Linked DNA regions of Homo sapiens: region 1 is linked to region 2. Evidence: promoter capture Hi-C in human tissues and cell types (Jung and others, 2019). All regions are on one chromosome and are shown on one strand. The core of a region is centred on a gene start or on the middle of the fragment in contact, and the rest is flanking DNA. Distances in the headings are between cores, read along the strand shown. Region 1 overlaps RNF24 (ring finger protein 24). Region 2 holds the start of ADAM33 (ADAM metallopeptidase domain 33).

Region 1 (4,859 bases), core at 895-3,394, 330 kb before region 2:
TTAAAAATCCACCTTAGGAAATGACAAAAAAAGAAATGACCAAAAAGAAACTAACTTGAGCTTCATGATTAAATATGTCATTATTAAATGTGACAAATATATTGTTTGCAAGAATTTCTGTGATGAGAAGATGGAAGCAAAAGGAGCTGCATAAATCACAGCTTCACAGAACATTGTCAGTATTTTTGTGTTTATCTCATGGATACATATTATTATTATTATTTTGAGATGGAGTCTCACTCTGTCACCTAGGCTGGAGTACAGTGGTGCAATCTCGGCTCACCACAACCTCTGCTTCCCGGGTTCAAGCAATTCTCCTGCCTCAGCCTCCCGAGTAGCTGGGACTACAGGCGTGCGCCACCATGTCCAGCTAATTTTTGTATTTCTGGTGGAGACGGGGTTTCACTATGTTGGTCAGGCTGGTCTCGAAATCCTGACCTCGTGATCTGCCTACCTCAGCCTCCCAAAGTGCTGGGATTGCAGGCATGAGCCACCGCATCTGGCCTTGTTTGTTTGTTTGTTTGTTTGTTTGTTTGTTTGTTTGTTTGTGACAGGGTCTCACTCTTTCACCCAGGCTGGAGTGCAGTGGCGTGATCTCGGCTCACTTCGACCTCTGCCTCCCAGGTTCAAGCGATTCTCCTGCCTCAGCCTCCCCAGTTGCTGGGATTACAGGTGCCCGCCACCATGCCTGGCTAATTTGGATACATATTTTTAAAACATCCTTTGTTTACTCTTTAAAAATTTTAAAATTAAAAACCCTTTTTTTTCTATTTATAGCTGCTTTATCATTCATTTGGCTTTTCCATGACACCACCCAAGTGGCTGGATATTACAAGAGAACTTCAGATTCATGACCAAAAATCCGAAGTAGACACTCAGCACTGCCCGGCAAAGCTACCATTGAATCTTAATAAGATCTTTTTGCCTATCACTATTTCATAACTTCTCTCCACTCCTTAAACTTATCAGCAACCCACCCCTCCTACTCAGATAAGCTGACCTCATAGTTCATTGAGGGTTTAGGAGATATCAGACAGAAACCACTCATCTTCCCCCCAACCAAATGTAGAAATCTGCCTTCCTTAGACCCATGTTTTCTGTCTCCTGTCGGAGGCAAGCTCCCCTTTCTACTGTGTTCCTCCTCACATCTTCTATACCTCATGCCCCCTCATATCTCACAGCTTTAGCATTTTTGCCCTCTCTCTTGCATCATCAGCAACTCTCCAGGGGGCTATCCATGTCAGCATACACATATGCCGTGACGTTGCCCATCTTTAAAATCAGAATAAGCTTCAGCAAACAACTTTTCCCTGACCCTCCTCTATCCCTTTCTATTTACCTACATGGTTAAGTCTCTCAAAAGAGAAGTTTACGTGCCTTCCCTACCTCCTCTATAGTACGTACCACCCTCTGAAATTCTGTTGTTTAATAATTTTTGTGTGACTTACCCCTAATAGAAGGTCAGCTCCAGGAAGGCAAGGACCTCATCTGTCCTGTTTACCACTCTGTCCCCTAGGACAGCAGGTGGCACAAGTGTCTACTCAGTACATGGGCAAAAGAGGCACAACTGACCTGGTAAAATAGCTTTTGATTTTTAAAAATTTCTAACAAGAGAATCCATGTTTTTTAATTACTCACCATTTTTTGCTACACTTAAGAATTGAAACAATTATGAAGAATATATTAATGATCAAATTTTGCCCTATGTTACATTTCATTCTTTCATAAGTATGACTTAATATTGGCAGTCTTGGGCCGGGCATGGTGGCTTATGCCTGTAATCCCAGCACTTTGGGAGGTCAAGGCGGGTGGATCATGAGGTCAGGAGTTCAAGACCAGCCTGGCCAAGATGGTGAAACCCCATCTTACTAAAAATACAACAAATTAGCCGGGTGTGGTGGCGGGTGCCTGTAATCCCAGTTACTCGGGAGGCTGAGACAGAGAATTGCTTGAACCTGGGAGGTGGAGGTTGCAGTGAGCCAAGATTGTGCCATTGCACTCCAGCCTGGGTGACAGAGCGAGACTCTGTCTCAAAAAAAAATATATATATATATAATATATATAAATAATATATATATAATATATAATATGTATAATATATATATTATATTATATTATATATTATACATATTATATATTATATATTATATATATTATACATATTATATATTATATATAATATATATATTATACATATTACATATATAATATATATATTATATATATAATATATATATTATACATATTACATGTATAATATATATATTATATATATAATATATATATATATTTGCAGTCTTGCACCTGGACTCTGGCATCAGACTGCTTGGAGTTGAATTCCAGCTCTTTCACTTTTTGCTATGTGACCTCCAGCAGGTTTCCTAACCTCTCTCTTTCTTCATTTGTAATGTGGTTAATAATAGTTCCTACCTCATGTGTTTGTTTTGTGTTCCAAATGAGATAATATGTAAAACACGAAACTCAGTACTCGTCTTGGGAGTAAACTCAATGAAAAATAATAGTAATTATTATAGCCTCCTCCAGTTTATAATATTTGACTCTGACTTGGTCTCTATAATATTTTTGTTCAAAATACTATATCTCCTAGGGTATATGGGCTATCAATATGATGATTCAGCTGTTCTTGGTTTTGTGGGGGGCGGGGGTGTGTTTGTTTTTAAGAGAGAGAGTCTTGTTCTGTCGCCCAGGCTGCAGTGCAGTGGTGTGATCTCCAACTCACTGCAGCCTTAACCTCCAGGGCTCAAACAATCCTCCCACCTCAACCTCCCAAGTAGCTGCGACCACAGGCACACACCAGCATGCCAGGCTAATTTTTTTTCTTTTTTTTTTTTTTTTTTTGTAGAGACAGGGTCTCACTATGTTGCCCAGGCTGGTCTCAAACTCCTGGGCTCAAGTGACCCTACCAGCACCTCCCAAAGTGCTAGGATTACAGGCAGGAGCCACCATGCCCAGCCAATAAATCATTTTGATCACTTGATAAAATATTTTTATTTCAAGCCAAGTCCTGTTCTTTGTTTATTTGGTTTTCTCAGAGGTGAGGTTCTTTCTTCATGTTATTCCACATTAAGTTTTCTTATTTCTGGAAATGGAGCTTTAAAAACACCCAATATATCATCAACAGATTTTTTTTTCTTTTGAAACAGCTATAAGACAATGTTCTTTTCATCTACTAGCTAGCTGGGAGGGTAAATATATGTAGCAGTACGAAGTATATTCTGAGGACCACATAAAAAATACAGACAGGCTCTGTAGAAGTTCAGGCTAGGGAGAGTCAGGTACTTCTAACCCTAAGGGATTCCTACAGCTTTTCTGCATGTTAAATAGTCTGTTTTAGCTTATTCTCTTATTACTTGTCTTGGTTTTTACTTTGAAAGTTTGCTTAATAATCATGGGAATATTTTAGATTTTAAAATACAAAATATACAAGCTAAACTTGAGAGCAGTTTTTAGTTGTAGAAACTGTTTCTTGAAGTAATTGACTTAGCGTTTGCTCTGCCTCTTTCTTTTCTTACCTAGGTAGGTAGTGGGGACTCCTTCAATTATCTGAGCAATTCAAATCTCAGAATGTAGTGTTGGGTAAATTGAGGGTTCTAAAAGAATGCCAGATGGTTTGAAAGGAACTGTGAGCATTCCAACTAGTGCAGTCCTTTGAAAGCCAGCTGGCAGAGCCTCCTGTGCTTTGGAGGTAGGAACCAGACACTTTGTTCCATGCCAGCTGGCCCAAGAATAGCTGGCCAGTGGCCTTGCTTTTGGCTGGCCACTCTTGGGAAAGCTGGCCTGGGCCCTCCATGTGCCCTAAGGATAGTCTGATACCAGAGAGTTGCACTGGCCCTCCATAGTACCCCAGGGAGTTGGAGAAAGCCTGCAGTGGCAAGGGAAAGGAAACTGCTATTTAGATAATGTTACAAGTGAACCTCGTGTTACAAATTTGCTCTGGAAATTTAATGTAATTTGAATTTTTATGGATTCACTACTGTTAGGTGTATTAAAGTTGCAATGAACTGTAGTGAATGTTTTTATATTGTAAGTAACTTCCAGGTTACCTGCTTTTAAAGTTCCTGTTTTTATTTGTCAACTTTTCTTAAAGTGAGGTTTGCCCGTTCCTTTTGTTGTCATCTTCTAAAGTTTTGATCATTTGAATTAGGAAAATTTTTCCATCTTGTTGTAAAGCTTGCTCCTGTGTAAACCATAGACTTTTTTTTTTTTTTGAGACAGAGACTTGCTCTGTCACCCAGGCTGGAGTGCAGTGGTGCTCTTTCTGCTCACCGCAACCTCTGCCTCCTGGGTTCAAGCGATTCTTCTGCCTCAGCCTCCCAAGTAGCTAGGATTACAGGCATGCGCCACCACACTCAGCTAATTTTTGTATTTTTAGTAGAGACAGGGTTTCACCATGTTGGCCAGGCTGGTCTTGACCTCAGGTGTTCTACCCGCCTCAGCCTCCTAGAGTGCGGGGATTACAAATGTGAGCCACCACACCTAGCCATAAACCATAGATTCTATAGAAGGTTAATTATGTATGTAGTCTTAGCTTGTCTCTCATTTTGATGGTACTTATGTTTTCCCGATTAGACAGGTGCTTGTATCAGATACAGTTCTTCACTTCCTTTAGCAGATTTAATATCATAATTGTTTAATTGACAGCAAAATAAGTGCAAATATCATACTGTAAGAATAATGAGCATTCAGTTCATTTGATGACAGTGTTTATTGAATTCTCAAAATTAATAGTTTCACTGCTGTCTATCAGTATGCTTTATGTTGCCTTAATTTTTTTTTCAAATGTGCAGATTGAATGGTGCTGCAGTATCTGTTAAGTTTATTAAGTTCATCTTGGCAAA
Region 2 (5,333 bases), core at 1,769-4,268:
AATCACACCACTGGCTTTCCTCGTTCTCCAGCTTGCAGATGGCAGATTCGGGAACTTTTTGGCCTCCATAATCACGTGAGCCAATTGCTATAATAAATATCTCTCTCCCTCTTTCTTCCTCTCTCTCTCTCTGTGCAAATATAGTTCCAATTATAAGAGCCCCTAACTGGAAAATAACCCTATGGTGCACTGGTGAGTAGAGAAACTGTGGTTCCCTCAAACCACCGAACACTATTCAGCAATACGAAGGAACAAACTATTGATATGCAAAATAGTGTAAATGAATCTCAAAAACATCGGAAAGAGGGAAGGAAGCCAGACACAGAAGAGTGCATGCCGCATGATTCCATTTATATGAAATTCTAGAACAGGCAAAACTTATCTATAGACAGAGAACAACAGATCAGTGGCTGTCTGGGGTTGGGAGTGGGCAAGTTTGGCTGGAAGGGCACAGGGCTCTTTCTGTGAGTGAGGGAATGTGTCTGCATTATAGTGATGCTTATGTAGTTATATACACTTATCGAAACTCATCTTACTGGCCACTTAAAATAAGTGCATTTTATTGTGTGTAAATTATACCTTAATGAAGTTGATTTGAAAATCCAAAGTAGTAATAATAAGTAATAATCTCGTAGCTGGACAGCTGTGGTGACTCACTCCTGTAATTCCAGCGATTTGAGAAGCTGAGGCAGGAGGATCACTTAAGATCAGGAGTTCTTTTTATTTTTATTTTTATTTTTTGAGACGGAGTTTCGCTCTTGTTGCCCAGGCTGGAGTGCAATGGCATGATCTCGGCTCGCTGCAACCTCCACCTTCTGAGTTCAAGCGATTTTCCTGCCTCAGCCTCCCAAGTAGCTGGAACTACAGGCACTCACCACCATGCCCGGCTAATTTTTGTATTTTTAGTAGAGATGGGGTTTCACCATGTTGGCCAGACTGGTCTTGAACTCCTGACCTCCAGTGATCTGCCCGCCTCGGCCTCCCAAAGTGCTGGGATTACAGGCATGAGACACTGCGCCTGGCCAAGACCAGGAGTTTGAGACCAGCCTGGGAAACAAAGTGAGACCCCCCTGTCTACAGAAAAATTAAAAATTTTAGCTGGGCCTGGTGCCGTGTGCCTGTAGTTCCAGCTACTCAGGAGGCTGAGGTGGGAGGATACCTTGAGCCCAGGATTTCAAGGCTGCAATGAGGCATGATCAGGCCACTGTCCTCTAGCGTGGGTGACAGAGTGAGACCCTGTCTCTAAATAATAATCATAAGAACAACAAGGACCCTCTAAACGCACTGATATCTAAGGTGTATTAAGCGACCAAAAAAAAAAAAAAGAAAATCAAAGTGCAGAAAAACGTTAATAAGAGAAAAAAATATGTCTGTATTGTCTTGAGTGTGAAAAAATAATCTAAAAGCCTATGAAAGAAACTAATCATATTGGTTTCCTGTTGGTGAGGAGGGCTAAGAGCACGGAGACTTTTCCCTATGCTTTCTGTACTTTTTGATTTTGAGATATGTGAATGTAGGTTTCTCTCACTGCTCGAACTTTCACTAACCAAATTACTACATTCCAAATTCTCAAAAACAAATAGATTTACTTAAAAGTAGGCTGGGTGCGGTGTCTCACGCCTGTAATTCCAGCGCTTTGGGAGGCCGAGGCGGGCAGATCACCTGAGGTCGGGAGTTCGAGACCAGCCTGACCAACATGGAGAAACCCCATCTCTACTAAAAATACAAAATTAGCCAGGCGTGGTGGCGAATGCCTGTAATCCCAGCTACTCGGGAGGCTGAGGCAGAAGAATCACTTGAATCTGGGAGGCAGAGGTTGCAGTGAGCCCAGATCATGCCATTGCACTCCAGTCTGGGTAACAAGAGAGAAACTCTGTCTCAAAAAAAAAAAAAAAAAAAAAAGATTTGCTTAAAAGTTAACATCTCCGGCCGGGCGCGGTGGCTCATGCCTGTAATCCCAGCGCTTTGAGAGGCCGAGGCGGGTGGATCACGAGATCAGGAGATTGAGACCATCCTGGCCAAAATGGTGAAACCTCGTCTCTGCTAAAAATACAAAAGTTAGCTGGGGGTGGTAGCGCGCGCCTGTAGTCCCAGCTACTCGGGAGGCTGAGGCAGGAGAATCGCTTGAACCAGGGAGTCGGAGGTTGCAGTGAGCCAAGATCGCGCCGCTGCACTCCAGCCTGGCGACAGAGGGAGACTCCATCTCAAAAAAAAAAAAAAAAAAAAAGTTAACATCTCATCCAAATTTGCACCGAGTAGGAAAACAAAAGTTTAAAACATGAAACAGATGTTACTGAGGCCGAAAGGGTCTCCCAGGCCTGGGAGTCTGCAGCTTTTATGCAATTCTGCCCTCTGGCCACCGCCAGGGAAGAAAGGTTGTCTCCGTCTGCTGCATCGCCTTTGCCCAGCAATGAAGCCCCCAAGACAGCGGCAGCCGGTTGCCTGAACCTTCCTATCCTTGGGGGCACCCAGTGCAGGTGGATGACCCGACTCAACCTCCGCCAGGGCACCCTCGGGGCAGGACGGGTAGCAAGGAGGGGACAGAGATCGGCCCCAGGAGACCACGGAAGATCGCGCTCCTGGGGCCAACTTCAGCAGCGAGAGGCGGCCTTTGCCCACCGCCTCATCCCACCACGCCGCGGTCCTCCAAGAACCTTCCCAGCGGTTCTCTCCTCCTCTCAGGAGTAGAGGCCCTCTGAGACCGACGGGGAGGGACGGCTCGGGCCGGTCATCCGAGGGGCCGCACGGATTCCCTCCTCCGCCCAGCTCCACCCCCTCGAGGGGCGGCGGTCCGGGAGTGGCGACCCGGCTCCCCCATGGCGCGCGCCGTCGGGGCCCCTGGCCAGGCTCCGAGCGGGGTTGGCGGGGAGGGGAGGCGGGAGCGAGGGCGGGCGGTGGGAGGTGGGGGCGGGAAGGTCCGAAGGCGGCGGCCTGAGGCTGCACCGGGCACGGGTCGGCCGCAATCCAGCCTGGGCGGAGCCGGAGTTGCGAGCCGCTGCCTAGAGGCCGAGGAGCTCACAGCTATGGGCTGGAGGCCCCGGAGAGCTCGGGGGACCCCGTTGCTGCTGCTGCTACTACTGCTGCTGCTCTGGCCAGTGCCAGGCGCCGGGGTGCTTCAAGGTGAGGACGCGGGCGGGGTGCGCCCTGAGGGGCAGGCTAGGCGCGGTGGTGGTGGCGGGGATGGGTTCTGCTCAGAGCTCGGGTCAGCGCGCGGAGGGTCTCACGGCCCCGGCACCATACGGCCAGTAGGTCAGGGCGTGGGGACTCTTTGGGGGGGTCTCCGTGGGACCTGCCCAGGGACGCTCAAGTGTGCTTGGGCTGGCCCCGGGCCCGGACTTGCCCACACTGCCCGGCTGCCACTCCGCTGGCAAAGCAGAGGGCATGGCTCCCTCCCCCTCGGGGGCAGCCCAGCCCCCAGCCCATAGCCGTAGCCCCCTCTTCCTGGATTCTCGCTCTCACAACCAGCTTCCATCCGCAGGCCACCGTGTGACCCGCTCCTGCTCCTCCACCCCTTAGGACTCAGCGGGGCTCCGTCCTCTAGGAAGCCCCCATGCCCAAGAGTCCCCCAGAGTCCCTGCTTTGCTCTCAGGCTGCAGAACTAGCTGTGGCCTCCACCCTGCTCACCCCTCGTCCCTCCTCCCAGGGCAGCAGGGCAGTGTGTATGTTGTTTATATTGTTGCCTTGTTTGGTGAGATAGAGAAGGGCCTCTCCAGATAGAAGGTGTCTGTTTAGCAGTGCTCTGGGAAGACTGCAGCTGTCTCCTCGGGGTAACCCCTCCAAACAAAGATGTTAAGATGGGGCTGGAACAACCTCTGCAAGCGGGTGGGAGGATTAGCCAGTCCTGCACAGCAAGTGCCTGGCCGGGAACAGGGAGGGCAACCAGGGAGGGGGCATGCGGGGCTGGGCTGTGCTATGCAGACTGGGCGGTGGCTTCCACAGCACTGTGTGGGGACCAAACAGGTACAGGGGCCTGGTCTGTTCTGGCCCCAGGGGAGGGCCCCAGGCGGTCCACTGCTCCCTCCCCTCTGAGCCCTATCCTGGGGTCAGGGGAGGTGATGGGACCCCTGGGAGAGGGGCGTCTATGTGCCCAATACCAGCCTGGCTCCCTCGGGTTCCACCCCCATTCACCCGGTCACCGGAGCTCCAGCTCCAGCTCCAGCTCTGCCCCTCTCTCCCTCATTGGGGTCAGGGTGCCCGTGGCCAGCACGTGCGCGCAAGGCCATGTGGACAGCACCCACACACCACACTGCACCCACACCACACCTGTGCCCGGGCCCACCCTACCTCTTCCCCAAACCCTTAGAGGCCTAGGAGCAGCAAAGCTTGGTTCTCTACTCTCAGTTAAGTGCTCTCTGGGCTGAGAGACCTCCCCTCCTTCCCCTCCCCCACATCCACTCAGAGCCCTCCCTGCACTGGCCCCTCTAGCCTCCTTTCCAAGGTGGCAGACTCCTCTCGGCCCTCATCTGCCTGATGGCAATTCACTCATCCAATCAAGGAGGGCTTCTTGGAGGAAGGGTCTTTGATGTTTGTAGTCTGGGAGAGAAGGTGGAGGAGAAAAAAGGAGTTGGGGTGGCCTAGCAGGAGCTGAGTCACTTCCACAGGCAGCCATCAGCCCAGCAGGACTGAGGCCAGGGCTGCGTGGAGGGGGGAGGCTGTCTGTTCTGGGAGCTGGGACTGGGTACCGGGGGAAGGAGGGCTGCTGCAGGCTCTGGGTGCCTGGGGCCTGGCTCCTGCAGGGCGGGCCTGTGAGAGTGGTTGGGGCCAGTGGAGGGCTGGGAGCATTCCAGGGGAACATTCCAGGCGCCCTCTGAGTAATGCTTGGCTCTGGGATTCCTCCTAGAGCCCCCTTAGGCACACCCGGCCAGGGAGCACCAAGGCTCCGTCCAGAAGCGTCCCCTCCCCTTGAAGAGATGAGGAGGGGCCTTCTGGGCCAGGGTACCAAAACCCTGCCACCAGGACAGAGTCCCCGAGGGAGCTCTGGGCAAGGTGGACCTCGCAAGGCAACATCTGGCTGTTGTTTTTCTCAGATGATGGGGGGGGCACAAGTGTCCTCTCTTCGTACATCTCTCACCCTAAAGGCATCTGCTGCCCATCTAAAAATCCCTAAGGCTGCCGCGCTCTTTCCTTCCCCTCTGCACTGGCGGCCTTGGCCTCTTCCTTGTGATCGCCGAGCCCAAGCCTGCCCCCCGACAAAGGTCAGGGGACTCCCGTGTCCCCAGCTGAGCTGTCCCTTTCCAGCCTTCTCTTTTCCTCCTCCTTGATAGCTCCTCAGATCCAAGGATGCCCACGGGCGTCCCTCCTTCTCCAGGCTGAGCCCACGCGTGTTGAAGGTG

What was found. The method cuts DNA at HindIII sites, captures the fragments that hold promoters and counts their contacts. A contact is called where the count stands out against the background at its distance.
Region 1: a contact is called between a fragment that was not itself captured here and the fragment with the promoter of ADAM33 in region 2, in 1 of the 25 tissues and cell types used here (dorsolateral prefrontal cortex).

Annotation. Positions count from the first base shown.
Region 1 is chr20:4,005,739-4,010,597 of GRCh38, reverse strand. The region is part of intron 1 of RNF24 (ring finger protein 24); the gene reads left to right. Among named protein-coding and RNA genes, the nearest start is that of RNF24, 7.4 kb to the left of the region's middle. The HindIII fragment of the contact is 5,241 bases long and covers 1-4,764 here.
Region 2 is chr20:3,679,695-3,685,027 of GRCh38, reverse strand. ADAM33 (ADAM metallopeptidase domain 33) reads left to right here and starts at 3,018. Exons shown (of 22, transcript NM_025220.5): 1 at 3,018-3,120. The coding sequence starts at 3,024. RefSeq lists an enhancer at 2,700-3,593. The HindIII fragment of the contact is 20,528 bases long and covers 1-5,090 here.